2 separate regions of the Homo sapiens genome follow, and region 2 is linked to region 1. The links are contacts of gene promoters, found by promoter capture Hi-C in human tissues and cell types (Jung and others, 2019). All regions are on one chromosome and are shown on one strand. The core of a region is centred on a gene start or on the middle of the fragment in contact, and the rest is flanking DNA. Distances in the headings are between cores, read along the strand shown. Region 1 holds the start of ITPKC (inositol-trisphosphate 3-kinase C). Region 2 has its middle 4.4 kb from the start of LGALS7.

Evidence for each region. The method cuts DNA at HindIII sites, captures the fragments that hold promoters and counts their contacts. A contact is called where the count stands out against the background at its distance.
Region 2: a contact is called between a fragment that was not itself captured here and the fragment with the promoter of ITPKC in region 1, in 1 of the 25 tissues and cell types used here (spleen).

The regions. Positions count from the first base shown.
Region 1 is chr19:40,715,751-40,720,850 of GRCh38, forward strand. ITPKC (inositol-trisphosphate 3-kinase C) reads left to right here and starts at 1,362. Exons shown (of 7, transcript NM_025194.3): 1 at 1,362-2,540. The coding sequence starts at 1,386. It overlaps COQ8B (coenzyme Q8B), which reads right to left and starts at 1,136. Exons shown (of 15, transcript NM_024876.4): 1 at 837-1,136. RefSeq lists enhancers at 603-682, 3,186-3,887 and a silencer at 1,253-1,612. The HindIII fragment of the contact is 31,130 bases long and covers 1-5,100 here.
Region 2 is chr19:38,775,459-38,780,394 of GRCh38, forward strand. No RefSeq gene overlaps it. Among named protein-coding and RNA genes, the nearest start is that of LGALS7, 4.4 kb to the left of the region's middle. The HindIII fragment of the contact is 4,464 bases long and covers 171-4,634 here.

The DNA of each region.
Region 1 (5,100 bases), core at 112-2,611:
GACATTTCCCAGAACACACTCAGCCAAGATTCCCAGTGCTGAGTCAGGAACCTTGGCATCCCAGAAAACCACCTCCCATCCTATCTTTCTTTCTCTGTGTGTGTGTGTGTGTGTGTGTGTGCGCGCGCGCGTTGGAAAGCCTGCTCTCCCCACAACAGGCTGACTCACCCACTTCTCACAGTCTGGAATAGAGGCATCTGGTTGGGGCATCTTTCCCACCACTGGGAGAGGGAGGGATGCCGATGCTTCCCCCACAGAACCCCGCTGCCCCAACCCCTCTTGTCGGGAATCAGGCCTCTTTGTCTCTATTCCCGTACTGTGTGACCTCAGAAAAGCCCTCATCCCTCTCTGGACTTCTCCTTCCCAACCTGTATGAGGTACTAGGTGGGCTCCTGCCTTCGATTTCTCTCATTGGTCTGTGAAAAGGTGACTCATTTTAGAGCCTTGGACCTGTGCCCAATGTCTCCCCCAGTTGACTCAATTTCAAGACAAACCACCTCCTCTCCCCCTTCAGAGGTGAACGGCTGACTCAGGAGCTGGGTGGCAGCTCAGCCTTGGGGGCAAAATATATCAAAATCACCTAGGACAATAAATAATCCTACTGGGCTACAACTGACAGTGCCAGGCCCGGGGCCACATGCTTCACATACATGAGATCATGTCAGATAGCCCCGTAGCTGCAAGCAAAGGGTAGAGGCCGGCAGATCTCTGAGCCTCTGTTCTCACGTGTAAAATGGAGCCCTGGCATCCCTATTGTTCAGCCTTGGAGAATGAACTGAAATCGTGTCAGGGTCTGATACAGAACAAGTACTCTATACATGACAGAGATTTCTTACGGAAAATCCAATGGAGCGTAAGTCATTTGCTCAGGGTAGCGGAGCTGGGAACTGGCAGAGGAAGGTCTCGAACCCACACCCGTGGGAACTCCAAGTCTTTGAAAGTCCGTCCCGCCCCTGCGTGAAGAATGGGCGCGCGGCTGGACTCGTCACCGGGGGTTTTAGGGAAGGTTGAACTTGTCATTCAACCGTGTAGGGAGGGTGGTTTAGTCACAGGGGTGGAGGGAGGGGGCCCACTGGCGCGCCACCAGGACCCCGGTGCCCTAGATGCATACCTGGCCGCGCTTCGGATGCTCAGAGGCAAACCCCCTCCCCTTGGGAGGCGGAGTCGGACAAGGCTCCGTCTCGTTCCGTTCCGTCACGTCCGGTGGGGCGGGGCTTCGGGGCTTTCCCCTTTGAGGGGAGTATCGGTTAACCCTTGCGCGGCGGGGCGGGCTGGAGCTCCGCGGGCCGGAACCCGGGAGTCGGGGCTCCCCAGCCACACCCCTCGCGGGATTTAAAGGGATAGGAGGGGCCGGGTCGGCCGAAGCCCGAACCGAAGGAGCGGGCATGAGGCGCTGCCCGTGCCGTGGGAGCCTGAACGAGGCGGAGGCCGGGGCGCTGCCCGCGGCGGCCCGCATGGGACTGGAGGCGCCGCGAGGAGGGCGGCGGCGGCAGCCGGGACAGCAGCGACCTGGGCCCGGCGCAGGGGCCCCGGCGGGGCGGCCGGAGGGGGGCGGGCCCTGGGCCCGGACAGAGGGGTCCAGCCTCCACAGCGAGCCTGAGAGGGCCGGCCTCGGGCCTGCGCCGGGGACAGAGAGTCCGCAGGCAGAATTCTGGACAGACGGACAGACTGAGCCCGCGGCAGCTGGCCTTGGAGTAGAGACCGAGAGGCCCAAGCAAAAGACGGAGCCAGACAGGTCCAGCCTCCGGACGCATCTAGAATGGAGCTGGTCAGAGCTGGAGACGACTTGTCTTTGGACGGAGACCGGGACAGATGGCCTTTGGACTGATCCGCACAGGTCCGACCTCCAGTTTCAGCCCGAGGAGGCCAGCCCCTGGACACAGCCAGGGGTTCATGGGCCCTGGACAGAGCTGGAAACGCATGGGTCACAGACTCAGCCAGAGAGGGTCAAGTCCTGGGCTGATAACCTCTGGACCCACCAGAACAGTTCCAGCCTCCAGACTCACCCAGAAGGAGCCTGTCCCTCAAAAGAGCCAAGTGCTGATGGCTCCTGGAAAGAATTGTATACTGATGGCTCCAGGACACAACAGGATATTGAAGGTCCCTGGACAGAGCCATATACTGATGGCTCCCAGAAAAAACAGGATACTGAAGCAGCCAGGAAACAGCCTGGCACTGGTGGTTTCCAAATACAACAGGATACTGATGGCTCCTGGACACAACCTAGCACTGACGGTTCCCAGACAGCACCTGGGACAGACTGCCTCTTGGGAGAGCCTGAGGATGGCCCATTAGAGGAACCAGAGCCTGGAGAATTGCTGACTCACCTGTACTCTCACCTGAAGTGTAGCCCCCTGTGCCCTGTGCCCCGCCTCATCATTACCCCTGAGACCCCTGAGCCTGAGGCCCAGCCAGTGGGACCCCCCTCCCGGGTTGAGGGGGGCAGCGGCGGCTTCTCCTCTGCCTCTTCTTTCGACGAGTCTGAGGATGACGTGGTGGCCGGGGGCGGAGGTGCCAGCGATCCCGAGGACAGGTCTGGGGTGAGTGGGACCCATCCTGCCCTTGAGCCACATCACGCAAAACTCCTTATTCCTCCGCCTTTGCTTAGGAAGTTCTCTACCCATTTACTGTTAGTTGCCCACCAGCAATTTCATCTCCGGGAACCTCTTCCATCCACTGACCTCCTCCCTCTGACAGCCAGGTTACTAATTCACTCCAGGCACCCCTTCTTAATTCTCTCCTTTCCCCTTCCTGCACTGTCTCCACTCCTGGGGGTCTACAATGGAGGGCCACTGACCGACTTTATGGGGCCCAGGAACCCCTGAAATTGTAGGACTAAGGAGCCTGCCGTGCGTGTTCACATACATTGTTGCAGCGACGGTCTGACATCTGTCTAATCCTCTGGAATCTGAAGAACACTGGGATAGGGAGACAGGCAGGGTGCACTTTCTACCCCACATTTCTTAATCTGGGGCCTGTGGCTGTCTTAAAGGGTCACAAACCTTCACCACCCCTTAGCCTATTTGTATGTACATTTTTCTAGGGAGCAAAGCGATTCCCCCAGCTTGCATCAGATTCGCAAAAGGGCTGTGTGACCCCAAACGCCAAAGGATCCTTGGCCTAGCCGGGAGCCCACCTGGTCTCCCCTGTGACCCCTACATCCCCAAGGAGCCCCCTGAACACTCTTGTTTACTTTGTCCACCGTCACCCCCAGCTTGGGTGTGGCTCTCCCCTGGTGAATCAGGAGGACCGGCCGGGCAGGTTCAGGGAGGGCGGGACAGAGCAGAGGCCGGTGTGAAACTGGAGAGCCTCACGTGGGGCTGGGAGCCGTGGGGCTGGGAGCCGAGTCCGGAGTCCATCAGCTTGCCAGCTTGCCTGCTGAGGCCTCTTTTTGCTCTGGGGCCCCTGGCTGGAGTCTGCCCTGAGCCCCGCTTCACCCCACATGCCTTCCTTGGGGACGTGTTCACACATGTGGCCCTAGCTGTGAGAGACAGACCTGCCTTGACGTGCCTGTGCCTGTGTGCAGGGGCTGACCCTCCTGGGCCCCATTGCTTTTTTCTCTCTGCCTGCCCTCTCACTTCCTTGGCATCTCAGAACAGCTGAGCTGGAAGTGGGTGAATAATAATAATAATAATAATAATAATAACAACAACAATTAGCACTCACTCATGTTTAGCCCTGTGCTAAGTGCTGTGCTTTTATTAACTCACTCACTCCTCGCAGCAACCCTAATGAGGTAGATACTTTTTTTTTTTTTCTGAGACAGTCTCGCTCTGTTGCCCAGGCTGGAGTGCAGTGGTGCCATCTCGGCTCACTGCAGCCTTCACTTCCTGGGTTCAAGTGATTGTCCTGCCTCAGCCTCCTGAGTAGGTGAGACACCAGGTGCCCGCCACCACACCTGGCTCATTTCTGTATTTTGAGTAGAGACAGGGTTTCATCATGTTGGCCAGGCTGACCTCAAGACTCCTGACCTCAAGTGATCCACCCGCCTCAGCCTCCCGAAGTGCTGGAATTACCAGCATGAGCCACTGCACCCGGCTGAGGTAGATACTATTATTATCCCCTTTTACAGATGAGGAAACTGAGGCACAGAGAATTCAAGTCACTTGTCCAAGGATATCACCTTGCAAGATGCAGATCAAATAATTCTAATCCTTACTGTACACCAGACACTGTTTTAAGTTTTTTCTTCTTTTTTTTTTTTAGTCTTTTTTGTCAATTTTTTTCTGTCATTTTTTATCTTAAAATAGCATCTATCTTAATTAAGGGCTTTGTATGTGTTAACTCTGAGTCCTTATGACAGCACTGAGATTGTCTCCATTCAACAGATGGGGGCCAGGCTCAGTGGCCCAAGCCTGTAATCCCAGCACTTTGGGAGGCCGAGGCAGGGGGATCACCTAAGGTCAGGAGTTCAAGACCAGCCTGGCCAACATGATGAAACCCTGTCTCTACTAAAATACAAAAATTAGCCAGGCGTGTGATGGCGGGCACCTGTAATCCCAGCTACTTGGGAGGCTGAGGCAGGAGAATCGCTTGAATGTGGGAGGCGGAGGTTGCAGTGAGCCGAGATTGCACCACTGCACTCCAGCCTGGGTGACAGAGCAAGACTCGGTCTCAAAAAAAAAAAAACAAAAACAACAGATGGGGAAGCTGAGGCATAGAGAGGTGAGAGATTCTTTGCTTAGGGTTGGCCACGTCAAGTCAGAGCCAGGATTCTAACTCAGTTCTGGCTGAGTTTCAAACCCATCGTTTAAACCCTCCAGTGTGTAGATCTGTTCCTAACTTGTCTCCCTCCCAGGCCTCCCTATCTCCAGTTTTTTTCTCATCCTTCCAGAATCTGCCTCCATGGCCCAGCTTTGTCTGCTCAGGTGCCCTCTCTGAGAGCAGTCAGGGGCTCAGTGCTGCGTTTGGAGCCTCCGGTCTCCAGGCGCCTTCCCAGAATCGACTTCCTTCCCTCCTCCTGACCCCCTCTGCTGTAACTAGGCCTGAGTACACACTGTTCCTTGAACACTCTTCTGTTGTCCTGCCTCCACGCATTGCTCAAGCCGTTCCCACTGCCCAGCATACCCGTGCTTCCTTCTCCCTTAATTTTGAAATCCT
Region 2 (4,936 bases), core at 1,153-3,652, 1.9 Mb before region 1:
GCCTGGGCAACACAGTGAGACCTCAGTCCACAAAAAGAAAAGACACTCCTTACATTACTTGATACATCATTCTGTACCTTGCTATTGTTTCCCAAGAACATCTTTTTATTTATTTCTATTTCTTCACTGTGGCTGGATATGACTTCACACCCAACCAACGTGCAAGTCCCAACTTGCCTTAAGTGATTGGTCAAATGGTTGCAGTCAATCTGTTACCAGTCTAAAAGGCTGGCTCCTTTCCTGTAACTGAGATATGCATCCTCGATGGGCTCTTATTCATTAGTGTTGGTTATGTTTCTCATCAGTTGTGAAACAATATTTTCTTTTGTTTTTTTTTTCTTTTGTTTTTTTTTTGAGACAGAGGCTCACCCTGTCACCCAGGCTGGAGTGCAGTGGTGCGATCTCGGCTCGCTGCAACCTCCACCTCCCGGGTTGAAGTGATTCTTTGGCCTCAGCCTCCTGAGTAGCTGGGATTACAGGCACCCACCAACATGCCTGGCTAATTTTTTTGTTTGTTTGTTTTTGGTTTTTTTTGAGACAGAGTCTTGCTCTGCCGCCCAGGCTGGAGTGCAGTGGCACCATTTCGGCTCACTGCAAGCTCCGCCTCCCTGGTTCACGCCATTCTCCTGCCTCAGCCTCCTGAGTAGCTGGGACTACAGGCTCCCGCCACCACGCCCAGCTAATTTTTTGCATTTTTGGTAGAGACGGGGTTTCACTGTATTAGCCAGGATGGTCTCGGTCTCCTGACCTCATGATCCGCCCGCCTCGGCCTCCCAAAGTGCTGGGATTACAGGCATAAGCCACCGCGCCTGGCCTAATTTTTGTATTTTTAGTAGAGACAGGGTTTCGCCATGTTGGTCAGGCTGGTCTCGAACTCCTGACCTCGTGATCTGCCCTCCTCGGCCTCCCAAAGTGTTGGGATTACAGGTGTGAGCCACTGCGCCTGGCCTGAAATAATATTTTCGTGAGCCTTTTTTCTTTTTCTTTCTCGTTTTTTGAGACAGAGTCTCGCTCTGTTGCCCAGGCAGGAGTGCAGTGGTTTGATCTTGGCTCACTGCAACCTCTGCCTTCCAGGTTCAAGTGATTCTCCTGCCTCAGCCTCCCAAGTAGCTGGGATTTCAGGTGCCTGCCACCACGCCTGGCTACTTTTTGTATTTTTAGTAGAGACGGGGTTTCACCATGTTGGCCAGACTGGCCTTGAACTCCTGACCTCAGGTGATCCACCTGCCTCAGCCTCCCAAAGTGCTGTGATTGCAAGTGTGAACCAACGCACCTGGTCACCTTTTTTCAATTTTAAATAGTTAATGTAGGCCGGGTGTGGTGGTGCACACCTGCATTCCCAGCTACTCGAGAGGCCGAGGCAGGAGAATTGCTTGAACCCAGGAGGCAGAAATTGTAGTGAGCCAAGATAGCTCCATTGCGCTTTAGCCTGGGCAAAAAGAACAAGACTCTGTCTCAAAAAGTATATATAATAATAATAATAATAATAATAATAATAATAAATGTATATATTTCTCAATAGTCTTTCTATCAAGGTATCCTTCCCATAAAATAAAAGATGCAGATATTAAAGGTATAGTTCACTGATTTTGAGAACTGTGGAGACCTATCTAACCACCTCCTCAATTAAGTTTCCTGGTGTCCAGGAAATAGTGGCCTCTCTTCTAGTTCCAGGAAGCCACTGGCCAGTGTCACTCCTGACCATTTTTTTGTTTTGTTTTGTTTTGTTTTGTTTTTGAGATGGGGGTCTCACTCTGTCACCCAGGCTGGAGTGCAGTGGTGCAGTCTCCGCTCACTGCAGCCTCAATCTTCCAAGCTTAAACCTCCTGGGCTCACCACCTCAGCCTCCCGAGTAGCTGGGGCTACAGACACACGCCACCATGCCTGGCTAATTGTGTATTTTTTGTAGAGAGAGGGTTTTACGATGTTGCCTAGGCTGGTGTTGAACTCCTGGAGTCAAGCGATCTGCCTGCCTTAGCCTCCCAAAGTGCTGGGATTACAGGCATGAGCCACTGGGCCTGGCCACTGCTGAGCATTGACTAGCCACCGAGGTTCTTTTGTCTCAAAATAAAGAAGAGGGAGTAGACTGATTTTTCTTACTTTATGCCTCTTTTAGGAAATAATTTAGATGAAAAGTAGCTAATTGCACACTAGGTGGTTGTAGAGATTTAAAATTCAGGCTCCATGAATGTCATTTGTTGGTCACATTTTGGTTATTTTTTATACACAGTGAAGGTAATTCTGGGGCTGCTTTTTGTAAATCAACATTCTGATGATGAAAATGACACTTAGAAATCTCACTTTGGCTGGGCACGGTGGCTCATGCCTATAATCCCAACACTTTGGGAGGCCGAGGCGGGCGGATCACCTGAGGTCAGGAGTTCGAGACCAGCCTGGCCAATAGGGTGAAACCCCGTCTCTACTAAAAATAGAAAAAATTAGCCGGGCATGGTGGCAGGCACCTGTAATGCCAGCTACTTGGGGGGCTGAGGCAGGAGAATCGCTTGAACCTGGGAGGCAGAGGTTGCAGTGAGCCAAGATCACGCCATTGCACTCCAGCCTGGGGGACAAGATCGAGACTTCCTCTCAAAAAAAAAAAAAAAAAGGAAAGAAATCTCACTTTGTTCTTGGCCAGGCGCAGTGGTTCACCCTGTAATCCCAGCACCTTGGGAGGCCAAGGCGGTGGATCACCTGAGGTCAGGAATTTGAGACCAGCCTGGCCAACATAGTGAAACCCTGCCTCTACTAAAAATACCAAAAAATTATATATATCTATATTAGCTGGGTGTGGTGGCACACACCTGTGATCCTAGCTACTTGGGAGGCTGAAGCAGGAGAATCACCTGAACCCGGGAGACGGAGGTTGTGGTGTGTGATCGCACCACTGCACTTGAGCCTGGGCGACAGAGCAAGACTCCATCAAAAAAAGACCAAACAAAAAAACAAAAACAAAAACAAAAAAACCCCAGAAACTCACTTTGTTCTTAAGCTTTTATGCCCATTGGAAATCTCACGACTCTATTTTTATAAATATAGTAAATATTAATAAAACAATCCAATTACCGCTAAGAAAAAGTCTATTCTCTAGTGTTCAGTTCCATTTATAAACTTAGTTAATTAAACTCTCTTAAATATTTTAAACTGAATGCATAATTTTAGAGGTTATTCATTTTTCAGTGTTTCAATTGCTCTATAAACTCATCCAAGTAATTCTTGTAAGTTTCCTAGTGATTCTTGTACATTTCAATGCTTAAACAGTAAAATACATGCATAGCTTTTTCTTCTTCCTTCCTTTCCTTCCTTTCCTTCCTTTCCTTCCTTTGCTGAACAATTGGGCCCTAAAGCTATTATGTGGGGCTGAGCAAGGTCATGGTGGCCCTGAATGGGCTGATTGGGGTGGGATGTCCTTGGGAGAGGTGTTTGGGGGTCAGGGCTGAGCAGGATGAGGAGCGCTCAGCAGAGGCTGCGCGTAAGTGCCCAGTGAGGGCCAGCAGGACACGTGACAGGGAGCCTGCACTCCCAGCATGGGAGGAGGACACCTGTGTGGGGTGGGTGCCCGACGAGGGGCATTGGAACCAGCCTCGGGGGGAGGTGCCATGTGGGAGTCAGAGATGAGGACTGGAACTGCTTTTTTTTTCTGGGAGGGAGTTACAGATATGGAAAGGGAGAGGTAGGCACCAGCCCTGTGGAGCTGGACTGGAAGTGGAGGCATTAGCGTGAGCTAATGGTTTGAGGATTGGGTTATTTGGTGGGGCAGGTTTGGACTCTTTTTATTTTTATTTAATTTAACATATTTATTTATTTATTTAGACAGAGTCTTCTCTGCCACCAGGCTGGAGTGCAATGGTGTGATCTCGGCTCACTGCAACTTCCGCCTCCCAGGTTCAAGCAATTCTCCCACCTCAGCCTCCCGAGTGGCTGGGACTACAGGCATGTGTCACTGCGCCTGGCTACTTTTTGTATTTTTAGTAGAGACGGGGGTTTCACCATGTTGGCCAGGCTGGTCTTGAACTCCTGACCTCAGGTGATCCACCTGCCTCGGCCTCTCGAAATGCTGGGATTACAGGCGTGAGCCTTCTTATACCAGTTTTTTTTTGTTTGTTTGTTTTTGTTTGTTTGTTTTTTAGACAGAGTGCAATGGCGTGATCTCGGGTCATTGCAACAACCTCTGCCTCCTGGGTTCAAGGGATTCTCCTGCCTCAGCCTCTCAAGTAGCTGGGATTACAGACATGCACCACCATGCCCGGCTAATTTTGTATTTTTAGTAGAGACAAGATTTCTCCACGTTGGTCAGGTTGGTCTCAAACTCCCGACCTCAGGTGATCCGCCCGCCTTGGCCTCCCAAAATGCTGGGATTACAGGAGTGAGCCCTGCGCCCGGCATTCTTATGGTAGTTTTATACCCAAGCCCACTGAAGACCGTAGGAGGGAGAGGTAAAGTTTTCTTTCCCCTGCAAAGGACATTCGAGTTGTTTCCACTGTTTGGCTGTTATGAATAATGAACGCTTCTACGAACATTTTGTTTAAATATTTAGCACGAACATGTTTTTATTCCCCTTGGGCATATCCCTAGGAGTAGAATGCCTGGGTCCCAAGGGTAACTTATGTCACACTTTCCTCCCTTATTCAGCAGTCAGTAAAGGCTGGTAAATTTCATCTGGCTGTCCTGTCATTCTCTTTGAATTTGGAACAATCATCCACCCTTTTTGGTTTATATGACATTGACTCTTCAAAACTCCCAACTATGGCCGGGTGTGGTGGCTCACATCTGTAATCCCAGAACTTTGGGAGGCTGAGGTGGGCGGATCACCTGAGGTCAGGCATTTGCGACCAGCCTGGCCAACATGGGGAAACCCTGTCTCCACTAAAAATACAAAAAATTAGCCGGGTGTGGTGACGCACGCCTGTAATCTCAGCTACTCTGGAAGCTGAGGCAG